Linked DNA regions of Homo sapiens: regions 1 and 2 are each linked to region 3. Evidence: promoter capture Hi-C in 16 types of primary human blood cells and fetal thymus (Javierre and others, 2016). All regions are on one chromosome and are shown on one strand. Each heading gives the region's core, a stretch centred on a gene start or on the middle of the fragment in contact. The rest is flanking DNA. Distances are from core to core; before and after follow the strand shown. Region 1 overlaps TYW3 (tRNA-yW synthesizing protein 3 homolog). Region 2 overlaps TYW3 (tRNA-yW synthesizing protein 3 homolog). Region 3 holds the start of ACADM (acyl-CoA dehydrogenase medium chain).

Region 1 (4,075 bases), core at 554-3,053, 960 kb before region 3:
TATTGAGAGGAGTTATTTCTAGTTATGTAGAGGTGATCTGTATTTGTAACCTCACACATTATACAAATTACCTAAAATGAGCCATTACATTTATGTAATAATAATTGCATTCTTTTTTACCCTCTTCTTTGACCCCTACATTTGGGTTGGAAAGTGAGGTAGGACAGAGGTTGTCAAGAGGTGATTCCAATCCAGTTTTCAGGGCTGTTCTTAAAGAACTGAAATGCATTTATTTCCCTAATAAAACATATTATTTATTTGATTTATATTTATAAAGCTAATATGGGACATAGTCAAATTTACATAACTTATAAGCTCTTGGTGTATTTCAGTCATTTCGTTTCAGTACACACAGATATAATAGTAGTACTTATTTCTTCACAGGTTTTACAACTGCCTACAGCATGCTTTGGAAAGGGAAACGATGACTAACTTACATCCCAAGATCAAAGAGAAAAATAACTCATCATATATTCATAAGAAAAAAAGAAACCCAGAAAAAACACGTGCCCAGTGTATTACTAAAGAAAGTGATGAAGAACTTGAAAATGATGATGATGATGATCTAGGAATCAATGTTACCATCTTCCCTGAAGATTACTAAGCTTTGGTTCTGATGTGTCTTGGCCGTAATGTTTCTAGTAGGTTTTATAAAGCTGCTCTTCATAAGAGTATTTTAGTTTGTTGAGTGTATCAGCCATTCATAAGCCAGTAATGACAAGTGCAGAGCTTCAAACTATAACTTTGTTGCCCAGAGGATGTGCAGTTGTCATCTAAGCTCTCAGCAGTACCCGGCTTATCCTACGACTTCACCTGAAATGCTATAGTTATCCCTACTTTTTTACCAGTTTCTCCCAGAAGCACCTGCTTAATAAATCAAAGATGTTTGAATGGTGTCTTATTCTGAAATAACCTGACCTAAGACAGGTATTTAGATTATTTTGGATACATTTTGAAAAGGGATAGCATAAATATTTTAAGTAAAAAGACCTTTATTTTAAATAATAGTGGATATTTTAATGCTGGAAATTAGCATTATAGTTGATATGCCAGAAATTATATCTTTGGTTGTGATTTAAACTTATGCTATAAACTAAATTAATGATGTAAATACATAGTTTTAAACATTCTTTTAGGGACATGTAACTTTTAAGTATCACTTCAATAATACGTATTATTATAGGAACAAAGATTTGGGAATAATTGATTACAGGTGAGGAAGTACTGGAATTCCAGTTCAAGGAGATACCATTTCATTTAGGACTAAAAGGACAAGATACAAGTTCACATGATGGGAAAAATCAGAAAACCTCTCGCAGACAAAGGGTATATAATGGATATGAGGCATCAAAAAGCATGGTATAGTCAGTGATGGGGAATAGTCCAGAAAGGCTGAAACACAGCATGTGATGCGAGTCAAGGTAGTTGATGCCCAACTGTGAAGGGCCGTTCTAATCTAGCATGGAGGTAGACAGTGTTTCCTTAATATGGCTGCATATCAGAATTACCTAGGTCAGGACGAGGCATGGAGATGCTACTTTAATAGGCCCTGCCGCAGATCTTCCAAACCAGAATCTTAATCCTGGAGTCTAGGAATCTTTATTTTTCACACAACTCATCCAAGTGGTTCTGATAAAATCAGTCCAGCACTTTTAGAACCCACTGATAACAGACTTATTCCTGGAGACAGCATTTGAGGAGGAATTGAAGATTTTTCTAATGAAAAGAAAAAGGGTCACATGAACAGATGTTGCAGTGTACCTGTGCCAGGGATTTCATGTGTACACTTTATAGGAGAATAAGCAAGAGCTTAGGTAAGTTATAGTCCTTACCATTGGGTCTAAGGCAGTTTCCAGGAAAGCATGGCAACTCGTTCAGCTATGTAAGTTGAACTCTGTACCACTTGGGAGGGAACATTCCCCTAGATGACAATGTCAGTGGCACTCGAAGTTGTGCAGTGCACATTCTTATCTACCAACATATACAGCAGTCCTTCTGGGAAGGAAATTTGGGCAGGAAAGGGAACTCACAGTGTCGGAATGCCTGGAGCATTTCTTCTAGTCTGGTGGACAGAATATGAAAGTATCTGCCTGGCAGTGCAGTAAATGAAAAGAGAAGATAAATGAATAAAAAAAAAAGTTATAAATAACAGTAGGAAAGAGAGAGTGCAGGTGGAACGAGCCTATCCTGTGGTGAAATGACAACACATTCTGCAGTTTTAAAATCTAAGAGGCTCATTGACTTTTCTTCATTCATTTAAATTGATCTCCAAGAAAACTATGTATTTTAAAGATTCCATAAACTGAATATATGAATGAGAATTAAGAAGAGAGGGGCTGCTTCCTAATCTGTTTATATAAGGTATAGTATAGTATAATCTGTTTATATAAGGTTAGTAGAGAGGAGACACCAGGTGCTGGCCATAAACCTAAGAAGACATTGAATCCCATTCACTCCTTAACATTCCTTAATATACATTCATGAGCTACATAACATTTTAATCATCAATGATGGACCATATACCATATACGATATGGTGGCCCCATAAGATTATAATGGACCTGAAAAATTCCTATTGCTAGTGATGTGGTCATTGTAAAGCTGTAGCACAACACATTACCCACGTTTGTGGTGACAGTCATATAAAAGTATGGTACATATAATTATGTACAGTGCATACATAATACTTGATAATATGTTACTGGTTTGTGTCTTTGCTATGCTTTTTATCATTATTTTAGGGTATACTACTTAAAATGTTAACTGTAAAACAGCTTCTGACAGGTCCTTCAGGAAGTACTCCAGAAGAAGGCATTGTTATCATAGAAGGTGACAGCTTCATGTGTGTTATTGCCCCTGAAGACCTTCCAGTGGTACAAGATGTGGAGGAGGAAGACAGTGATACTGAGGATTCTGACCCTGTGTAGGCTTAGGCTAATGTGTGTGTTTATATCTTAGTTTTTCACAAAAAGGTTTTTCCAATGTTAAAAAAAATATATAAAAAAGCTTATAGAATAAGGATATAAAGAAATATTTTGTACAGCTGTACAATAAGCTAAGCATTATTACCAAAGAGTCAAAAAGTTTTAAGAAATTAAAGTTTATAAACCAAATGTTCATTGTGAGCCAAGGTTAATTTATTGAAGAAATAAAACATTTTTAATGAAATTTTGTGTAGTCTTAGTGTCCAGTGTTTATAAAGTTTATACAGTAATACGTTTATACAGAACATCCTAGGCCTTCACATTCACTCACCACTCAGTGACTCACCCAGAGCAACTTCCAGTACTGCAAGCTCCATTCATGGTATGTGCCCTGCACAGATGTGCTATTTTTCACCTGTTATACTATATCTTAATTGTACCTTTTCTATGTTTAGATATGTTTAAATACATAAATACTTATCATTGTGTTACAATTGCCTACAGTAGTCAGCACACTAACATGCTGTACGGGTTTGTACCCTAGAAGCAATAGGCTCCACCATGTAGGCCCAGTAGTGATGTTTGCGTGACTAAATCACCTTACAACCCATTTCTCAGAACATGTTTCTATTGTTAAACAACACACAACTATTTTATTTATGTGTTTTATTTATGCCTGATCACCAATATCAATAACTGAAACACAGCAGTTTAGTAATAATTTAATACACACCATAACCTGCCTATTGAGAATGGCATTATATTTGTTTTCATTGTAGTGGCTCCATCCAAAATAAAATGATTTTTTTCCTTCCTTCAGGATGAAGGCAAGCATTTATTCCTACGGTCTGGATTCCTCATATCACCTACAAGTTAACTGCTTTTGTGTTCTAAAAGAGAGAGGAAAAATGAAGTCAACCTTATTGAAAAACAAGGAGGGAAACTAAGGAACATGCTTTTGCTTTTGAGGTTCTAGGCCAGAAGTCATAAGCTGTAACTTGTCCAAGTTATGGCCAAGCAGATATGTTTTGTTTGGCCCACATGGAGTATATTTTTTCTAATTGAATCAACATTTTAAAATATGATGATTTAATATTTAAAACTATAAAGCGCATCTCTAGTTTGTTTTGTGTGTGTTTTTTTAATTGGAA
Region 2 (3,645 bases), core at 316-2,815, 990 kb before region 3:
AGAGAAGGACTTGGAATTGTCCTGCTTAGATTAGGTGCTCTCCCTCTTAGGTTAATTATTTTTGCTAGTGGAATGTGATGATATCCTTGATCAGACATAAGCAAGCACTTGGCACCTCTGATATTGTGATAGGGAGAGTGATGTGTGACAGGGTAATGATTGACAGCCCCACCAGAAATCAAATGGTGTGAAGGCAGGACGATGTTGCCCGGGGATGCTGGGCAGACAGAAATAATAACTGTCTTGTATAAATTCTAGCTCAGACACAATATTACATGTTTCACTAGGTGGTCAGACTACGCCGCAGGATACACTGTAACATGGGTGCAGCCAAGGTTAAAAGGCAGGCAAGTGCTACCTAGGGAAGAGACTAGTACCTGACTCAAGGTCACTAACAAAAAACACGCATACTAGGCTCAAGTGTTGTAACATTTGCTTATAGCAGGAGGGAAGAGACTACACAAGATCTAGCCCTTTGCAATGTGTCAGTCCCCATGGCTAGCAGATTGGTTCCACAGCTGATCAGGGCAGAGTGATGGCATGTACCCCACTTTGTGCTGCAGTAGCTCCCAGACCCTGAACACTGCCCCATAGGGTCTGAAATACAGAAAGCTAGGAACGTGCTCAGGGGCCATTGGTTCTCATGTAGCTGAGCAGTTCCAAGGTTCCTCTCCCAAAGTTAGGAGATAGCAAAAACAAACAAGTGAACAGGGAAAAAAAAACAAACAAAAAAACTGCAAGTTGCAATTGTTACAACAACTGTGCCTGTTACAGAGGGAACAGGAACTCACTGGCTGTGCTCTGAGCTCTTTGCATGCACTGCTATTTGTGAGCTTACTAGTGCTGCTGGTAAGCACTGGTGCTTGGTACAGGATGCTTCTTGGGAACATGGGTGGCAGTTAGGCTTTGTTTGGACCCTTCTCTCACATTACATTTGTCTCTATCTCAATCTAACAAAAAATTTAAACAATCCTAATACAGTTTTTGTATACTACATTTCCTAATGAAAAATCCGTTATGGAATTAAATAAAGTAGTAGTTTACTTCTTCAAAGCACACTAATAGGTGGAAAGAATGGTATAGAAGATTTACGGGAGAACTAGAAATTTTAAGAAAATAAGCAAATAAATTTTTGGTGAAAAAGGACCAAGAAAGCAGAGGGAAAAGTTACTGCAGAAAAAATATGCTGAGTGATTCTGAAAATTTCTAAGAGAAATTGAAGTTATGTATGGGGTAAAGGGTCGCCAAAGGACAGGCCATATACTTGCATCTGATACCACTGTTCATTTATTTAGATTGTAGCTCTGAAGAAAGCAAATGGTGATGCCACTTTGAAATTTGAACCATTTGTTCTTCATGTGCAGTGTCGACAATTGCAGGATGCACAGATTCTGGTAAAATTTTGTTGTAATTGTACTTGAATTTATAGATATGTGGGTAGATGTAATTTTAAGCTTTTAACCTGCTATAAATATCAATGAGATATTACCTTATTCAACTAGTTATGTATATATTATTTATTGGTCTGCTCAATCTATTAATTTTTAATATTAGAAAAAAAGAGTAGCTAATCATTGCTAGGAAAATATAAGTCCCAGGTTATGCTTCCTGTTTTCTTTCTTAACGTTTTTATTTATAAATTTTACTTCAGCATTCTATAGTTTGTTTTTGTTTGCCAAGCTTTAAGAAAAAATACTGTGGAACTACATGTAAAATTAAGAGTTTTAAAGAATATTTCATTTTTCCCATTTAAATGAGCATGCATGAGGTAAACATCTGTTTAGTCTTGATTCTCCTTTTTATACCTTTTATATATTTATATATAAAACTGAATTGCATTTTAAGCAACAATAATGTATTGAGTCTCAGTGTGTCAAGTACTAGGGGCACAGTGATGAACAAGATTAAAGACTGTCTTGGTTCCTCTTCCAAAGTTAGGAGACAGCAAAAACAAACAAGTGAACTGGCAAAAAAACAAAAAACAAACTGCAAGTTGCAAAATGTTCTACCGAAGGAAAAAACAACCTGGTAATAGAGAACAGTGCAAAAAGCAGCTCACTTGAAGATAGGCTTCTCTGAAAAGCTTTCTTTAAGCTAAGACTTAAAGGAACAGAAAGAGCTAGGCATGTAGCTGGGAAATGAACATTCCATGAAGATGGAAAAGTATATACAAAGTTTCAGTGGGTCTAGAGAGTGGAAAGAAGGTGCCAGAAGGAGGCTGGGGCCAGGTCATTTAAGGCTTTGTAGACCAGATTAAAGAGTTTGAATTTCTTTCTGAGTTCAGGGAAAAGTTATTGAAGGGACAGTTTTAAGCAAAGAGTGGCTTTCTAGGTTTTTGTTCTGAAAAACTCAGTTCTGCTTCAGCATAGAGAAAGGAGTGCAGTAAGTGAAAAGATACGAGTTAGGAGTAGTTTGTGGTGATAGGTTGGTGTAAGGTGATAGCACCAAAGCAGGTGAGAAAGGAATAGATTCAATATGTATTTCAGCATTTGAATCAACAGAATTGTAAGGTTGTCTGGGGAAGGACAGCCAGAGGGAGGAGGAGAAAGAGGAATCAAGGATAACTACTTAGGTCTGGCTGGAGCCCCTAGCTGTATGGTAGTCGCCTTTATCCAGATGGGGTGTGCTGAAGTTGAAGTGTGTCCAGAATTGGTTCCTTCCAGTGGGTTATTGGTCTCGCTGACTTCAAGAATGAAGCCGTGGACCCTCGCAGTGAGTGTGACAGTTCTTAAAGATGGTATGTCCGGAGTTTGTTCCTTCAGATGTTCAGATGTGTCCGGAGTTTCTTCCTTCCAGTGGGTTCGTGGTCTTGCTGACTTCAGGAGTGAAGCTGCAGACCTTCGCAGTGAGTGTTACAGCTCTTAAAGGTGGCATGTCCAGAGTTGTTTGTTCCTCCCAGTGGGTTCGTGGTCTTGCTGATTTCAGAAATGAAGCCGCAGACTTCCACAGTGAGTGTTAACAGCTCATAATGGTAATGCAGACCCAAAGACTGAGCAGCAGCAAGATTTATTAAGAGTGAAAGAATAAAGCTTCTGCAGCTTGGAAGGGGACTCAAGTGGGTTGCTGCTGCTGGCTCGGGTGGACAGTTTTTATTCCCTTATTTGGCCCCACCCACATCCTGCTGATTGGTCGCTTTTACAGACAGCTGATTGGTCCATTTTACAGAGTGCAGATTGGTGCATTTACAATCCTTTAGCTAGACATAGAGCGCTGATTGGTGCGTTTTTACAGAGTGCTGATTGGTGCGTTTACAATCCTTTAGCTAGACACAGAGCGCTGATTGGTGCATTTTTACAGAGTGCTGATTGGTGCGTTTACAATCCTTTAGCTAGACACAGAGCGCTGATTGGTGCATTTTTACAGAGTGCTGATTGGTGCATTTACAGTCCTTTAGCTACACACAGAGCGCTAATTGGTGCGTTTTTACAGAGTGCTGATTGGTGCATTTGCAGTCCTCTAGCTAGACAGAAAAGTTCTCCAAGTCCCCACTTGACCCAGAAAGTCCAGCTGGCTTCATCTCTCAATCCACCCTCTAAACAGGACACCTCAACTGCTGCTGGGAATTTGGCGATGACGGCTCTAGCTACTTCCTGCTGGATAGGGGTGAAGAAGGGGCCCTGCAGTTGTAGTGTCCTCCAGAGGGGA
Region 3 (4,043 bases), core at 1,109-3,608:
TGTGCTAACATATTGGAGGCCGAAACAATGAGGTTCGTGATCAACTCAGTATATCACTGGAGGCTATATGAGTAAGCAGCAAACTGTTTCTCATAAATGCAGAACGTTGGCGAACTGACAAACTGCGTATGCCACCCAGGAGGACTGCTGAGGGTAGTTACGATCTAGGCACAAATGTTTCTTATGATTAGGCATAATTGAAGCCTGTCAGTAACAATATGAACCTGTGATCAATTAAGCAGCTGACCAATCGTTACCACCTCCTCCCTGCTCCTGTTACCCAAAAAATAGGAAGGGCTGTGGAAGCTCTGTGGCTGCCTTTGCTCACGAGAAGCAGGGAGCTCTCTTCTTCTTCCCCTGGCCCTTTCCTTAAAACAGTTCCTTTTGTCTTAAGTTATCATTTCTACGTTCGTCCCTTCATTTGATCTCACAATGATGGTCTCAAGCAGTAACAGTAGTAACTGCTGTAACGATGGTCTCAAGTAGTAACCGTGGCAGTTGGCCACACTAACATTCTTTGATATCTGTTGGCCGTAATAAAGAAATCAATGTACTTTGTGCTCTTAGCTGCCACATTTTAGCCTAGATATTTGCCCTGGCATGCTTATACTGGTCCAAGGAAGCATTAGGCCATAGCCTGTTTTCTTCCTTATCTGGAGGTGTTTTTACCTTTCTCAGCATTCCACAAGTTGCTTCCTCCTTCCTTTGTTCTCCTCTGTCTTTGCCTCTTTTGGAAAGTTCTAAGTTGCTAGCCAATCAGGACAAGTACAGAGGTCCCCTTCCAGCCAATGGAAACCGGACACGGTAGTAGGGTGCACGTGTCAGGTTATAAATGACCCTGTCTCCTTTATGCGTGTGTGCTCTCGTGGCAAGACTACTAGCGAGCGGCAACCTTTCTGCAGAAAGTAAACTAGCCTTGCTAAGAGCTCCTTTGTCTCAGTGTTGATTTTTGCAACACTGAGCGCCCGTTCCCAACATCAGTAAGGCTTTTCTTTTTAATGAAAAGCAGCCCCAAATCCTTTTCTAAGAGCAGCCTGTGAAGTCGAGCTGCAGGCACAGACAAACAAGGGGGTAGCTTGCTTGGGTGAATGGTGGCAGGAACTACCGACTAGACATGTTTAAGATGAGGGCTCCATCTTCGCTTCTCTGCCAGCCACGTGTACAGTAAGAAGGGGTTACAATAGGCATATGGGTGATTTTGTGCTTTTCGTTCATCTTTTCTGTGTTTAAAATGTTCAGAATAAGAAATTGGAACAAAGGAGACATGAATAGACAATTCCTAATCATCTTTAAGAGTCCGCTTTGTGTTTTACTTACCACCACCACTTTGAAGGCTTTCTTGCCTATACCAGGACAAACTCAGCTCTTTATCCCTTTTCCGAATTTTCCTGGTACTTTCACTTTGAATATAGCGCTTAATTAACATTCTGCCTTGTACCTAGGACTAACACACTATAAATTCCCAGAAGACAAAGTAGGGGAATACAATAACAGGATATAGAATTTTAACAGCTAAATTAGATGAATTTATGGGTGACCTTTATTGGGCAAAAGAAAATGTTAAGTTAGTATAAGATTTAGTATAAGCTACCATCTCAAAACTCAGGGTCTCACTGGAAGAGAAAGTGACTCCAGGTAGAATTCCTCAGGGAGACATTCACTTCCATCATTCGCTGAACCAGGAGCTTTGGACAGCCTCGGATTGCACCCGCATATCCAAGGACACCACATCAGCGGACAAGTCATAAACAGCCTTGGGAATACGCGGAAAGGTCAAATTTACCTAAACAATTAAATTCTCTTTTAAATTTTAAGGAAACACAAGTATGCTTTCGCTTTAGGTAGGGCATTTGAGAGCAAAATGTACTAATACTTTGAATCCGCCAAGCAGACACGATCTGGGTTTGACCGTTCTCTCCGGGTAAAGGTGAAGGCTGACCACGGGGGCCGCTCTCCCTCCAGGCCCCAGCCACGCCCTCTAACCCAGGTTCCCGTCCTGCACCGCGCCGCAAGTCCCCCCACCGTTCAGCGCAACCGGGCCCTCCCAGCCCCGCCGCCGTCCCCCTCCCCCGCCCTGGCTCTCTTTCCGCGCTGCGGTCAGCCTCGGCGTCCCACAGAGAGGGCCAGAGGTGGAAACGCAGAAAACCAAACCAGGACTATCAGAGATTGCCCGGAGAGGGGATGCGACCCCTCCCCAGGTCGCAGCGACGGCGCACGCAAGGGTCACGGAGCATGCGTTGGCTACCCGGCGCCGGGGACCGCTGCCACCCCGCCTAGCGCAGCGCCCCGTCCTTCCGCAGCCCAACCGCCTCTTCCCGCCCCGCCCCATCCCGCCCACGGGCTCCAGTGGGCGGGACCAGAGGAGTCCCGCGTTCGGGGAGTATGTCAAGGCCGTGACCCGTGTATTATTGTCCGAGTGGCCGGAACGGGAGCCAACATGGCAGCGGGGTTCGGGCGATGCTGCAGGGTGAGAGGGAGCCCAGCGGTGCGGTGGGGCTGGAACATGGGTATTGTGGTGTCGGAGCAGGGGGCCCTGGGCCAAAAATAGGTGCGGCCGGGAGGAGTGGGAAGTCGGGCTGAGGAAGGAGCCAGCCTAGGGGCCCCCAACCTGCTTTCACGCCTCCTACCACCGGACGGAACGTAGCCTAGCGTTTCATTTTCCGTATCCTCCCGTCAGGCGACCCCGTTATAGCCGGCATCCTCTCTTTAGAATATCGTTTTTCTTTCTCTGGTAAACCCTCCAAATATTTACCGCGGGAATCCCACCTTTTTCCAAAGTGACCCCGTCTCTGTGTCAGAACCACGGGAAAAAGAAAAATGGAGCAGCTACTCCTTGAAATACTTAATGTTTAATAAGCTTTTCGTTGTAACGTTTCCACGTTGCTTACGGGAAAAAAAAAAGTAAAAAAAAAACCTGCAGAATTTTATGTGAACTTGTGTGTATATTCTAGTATTGGATCTTAATAGATTCTAAATAAGTTTGTCACTAGATGAATTTTGGTATCTTAAATATTCTTGATATGTTCACACCACTGCCATTTAGATGTCACTTAAAATTAAGTTAAAGTTATGTCTTGGACCAAAAAAGCTGCGGTTTTAGAATAATCCTAAAGAATTGCTGCCCATGTTTTGCTGGTGTTATGCAAGTTAATGTGCAGTGAAGGCAGAAATTGGGAGATTTCAGCTATTTTTAACTCCTACACCAGAAAAGCAGATTTCTCAACCTCCAAGGAAGGATCTAAAAAAAACCTGATATAGAAAACTTACACCCTTTTTCTCTTCTTTAACCCATAAAACTGACACTCTTATATTCCCAAGAAATGCACAAAAGTGTTCAATTCTAGTGGTGCTGTTTCGATATTTGGAATTTCATTGTTCTAGACAGAGAGCCCGAAGTAATAAAACCAATAGTTATATAGCATTAGGCTTTCAAAACATTATCGTACTTTAATCGTCCGAAAATACGCAGTGAGATTAGTCCCATTTTTTGGTTTTGAACGGAAGCTATAAGCAGTTTGTAAACCTGTCTACGGCCACAAATATGGTTGTGGAACCTAGATTCACATTCAGCAATTATAACTCCAGATCCCGTGCTGTTTCTGTTTTCTATTTGCAAACCACCTCTCTAATTAACTGGCTAACTTTGTTATGTAATTAACAGGTTGATGGGCATTGTATTCTGGTAATAGCAACCTTTGCACTTTGTTCTATGTAACATATTTTCCTGAACAGTCACATGTGAAGTGACTTTTTCCCTATTTAAATTCCCTCGGTTGGCCAGGTGCGGCGGCTCACGGTTGTGATCCTAGCACCTTGGGAGGCCTCGGCGGGTTGATCACTTAAGGCCAGGAGTTCGAGACCAGCCTGGCCAAAGCAGGGAAACCCTGTCTTTACTAAAAATAGGAAAAATTAGCTGGGCATGGTAGCATATGCCTGTAATCCCAGGAGGCTGAGTCTGCAGTGAGCGGAGATCTCTCCACCGCACTCTAGCCTGGGTGACAGAGGGAGACTCTGTCAAAAAAAAAAAAAAGTCCCTCAGTAGA

The links. The method cuts DNA at HindIII sites, captures the fragments that hold promoters and counts their contacts. A CHiCAGO score of 5 or more calls a contact.
Region 1: a contact is called between a fragment that was not itself captured here and the fragment with the promoter of ACADM in region 3, in 1 of 17 cell types (M2 macrophages). The highest score is 6.3, in M2 macrophages.
Region 2: a fragment that was not itself captured here is called in contact with the fragment with the promoter of ACADM in region 3 in 1 of 17 cell types (M0 macrophages); the score reaches 6.4 in M0 macrophages.

The regions. Positions count from the first base shown.
Region 1 is chr1:74,763,510-74,767,584 of GRCh38, forward strand. TYW3 (tRNA-yW synthesizing protein 3 homolog) reads left to right here. Exons shown (of 6, transcript NM_138467.3): 6 at 385-3,168. The coding sequence ends at 604. Among named protein-coding and RNA genes, the nearest start is that of TYW3, 32 kb to the left of the region's middle. The HindIII fragment of the contact is 2,401 bases long and covers 604-3,004 here.
Region 2 is chr1:74,737,395-74,741,039 of GRCh38, forward strand. It overlaps TYW3 (tRNA-yW synthesizing protein 3 homolog), which reads left to right. Exons shown (of 6, transcript NM_138467.3): 3 at 1,296-1,394. Among named protein-coding and RNA genes, the nearest start is that of TYW3, 6.1 kb to the left of the region's middle. The HindIII fragment of the contact is 226 bases long and covers 1,453-1,678 here.
Region 3 is chr1:75,722,351-75,726,393 of GRCh38, forward strand. It overlaps ACADM (acyl-CoA dehydrogenase medium chain), which reads left to right and starts at 2,359. Exons shown (of 12, transcript NM_000016.6): 1 at 2,359-2,467. The coding sequence starts at 2,438. It also overlaps a transcript of SLC44A5 not described here. RefSeq lists enhancers at 1,745-1,834, 2,485-2,574 and silencers at 2,205-2,254, 2,305-2,354. The HindIII fragment of the contact is 3,396 bases long and covers 1-2,855 here.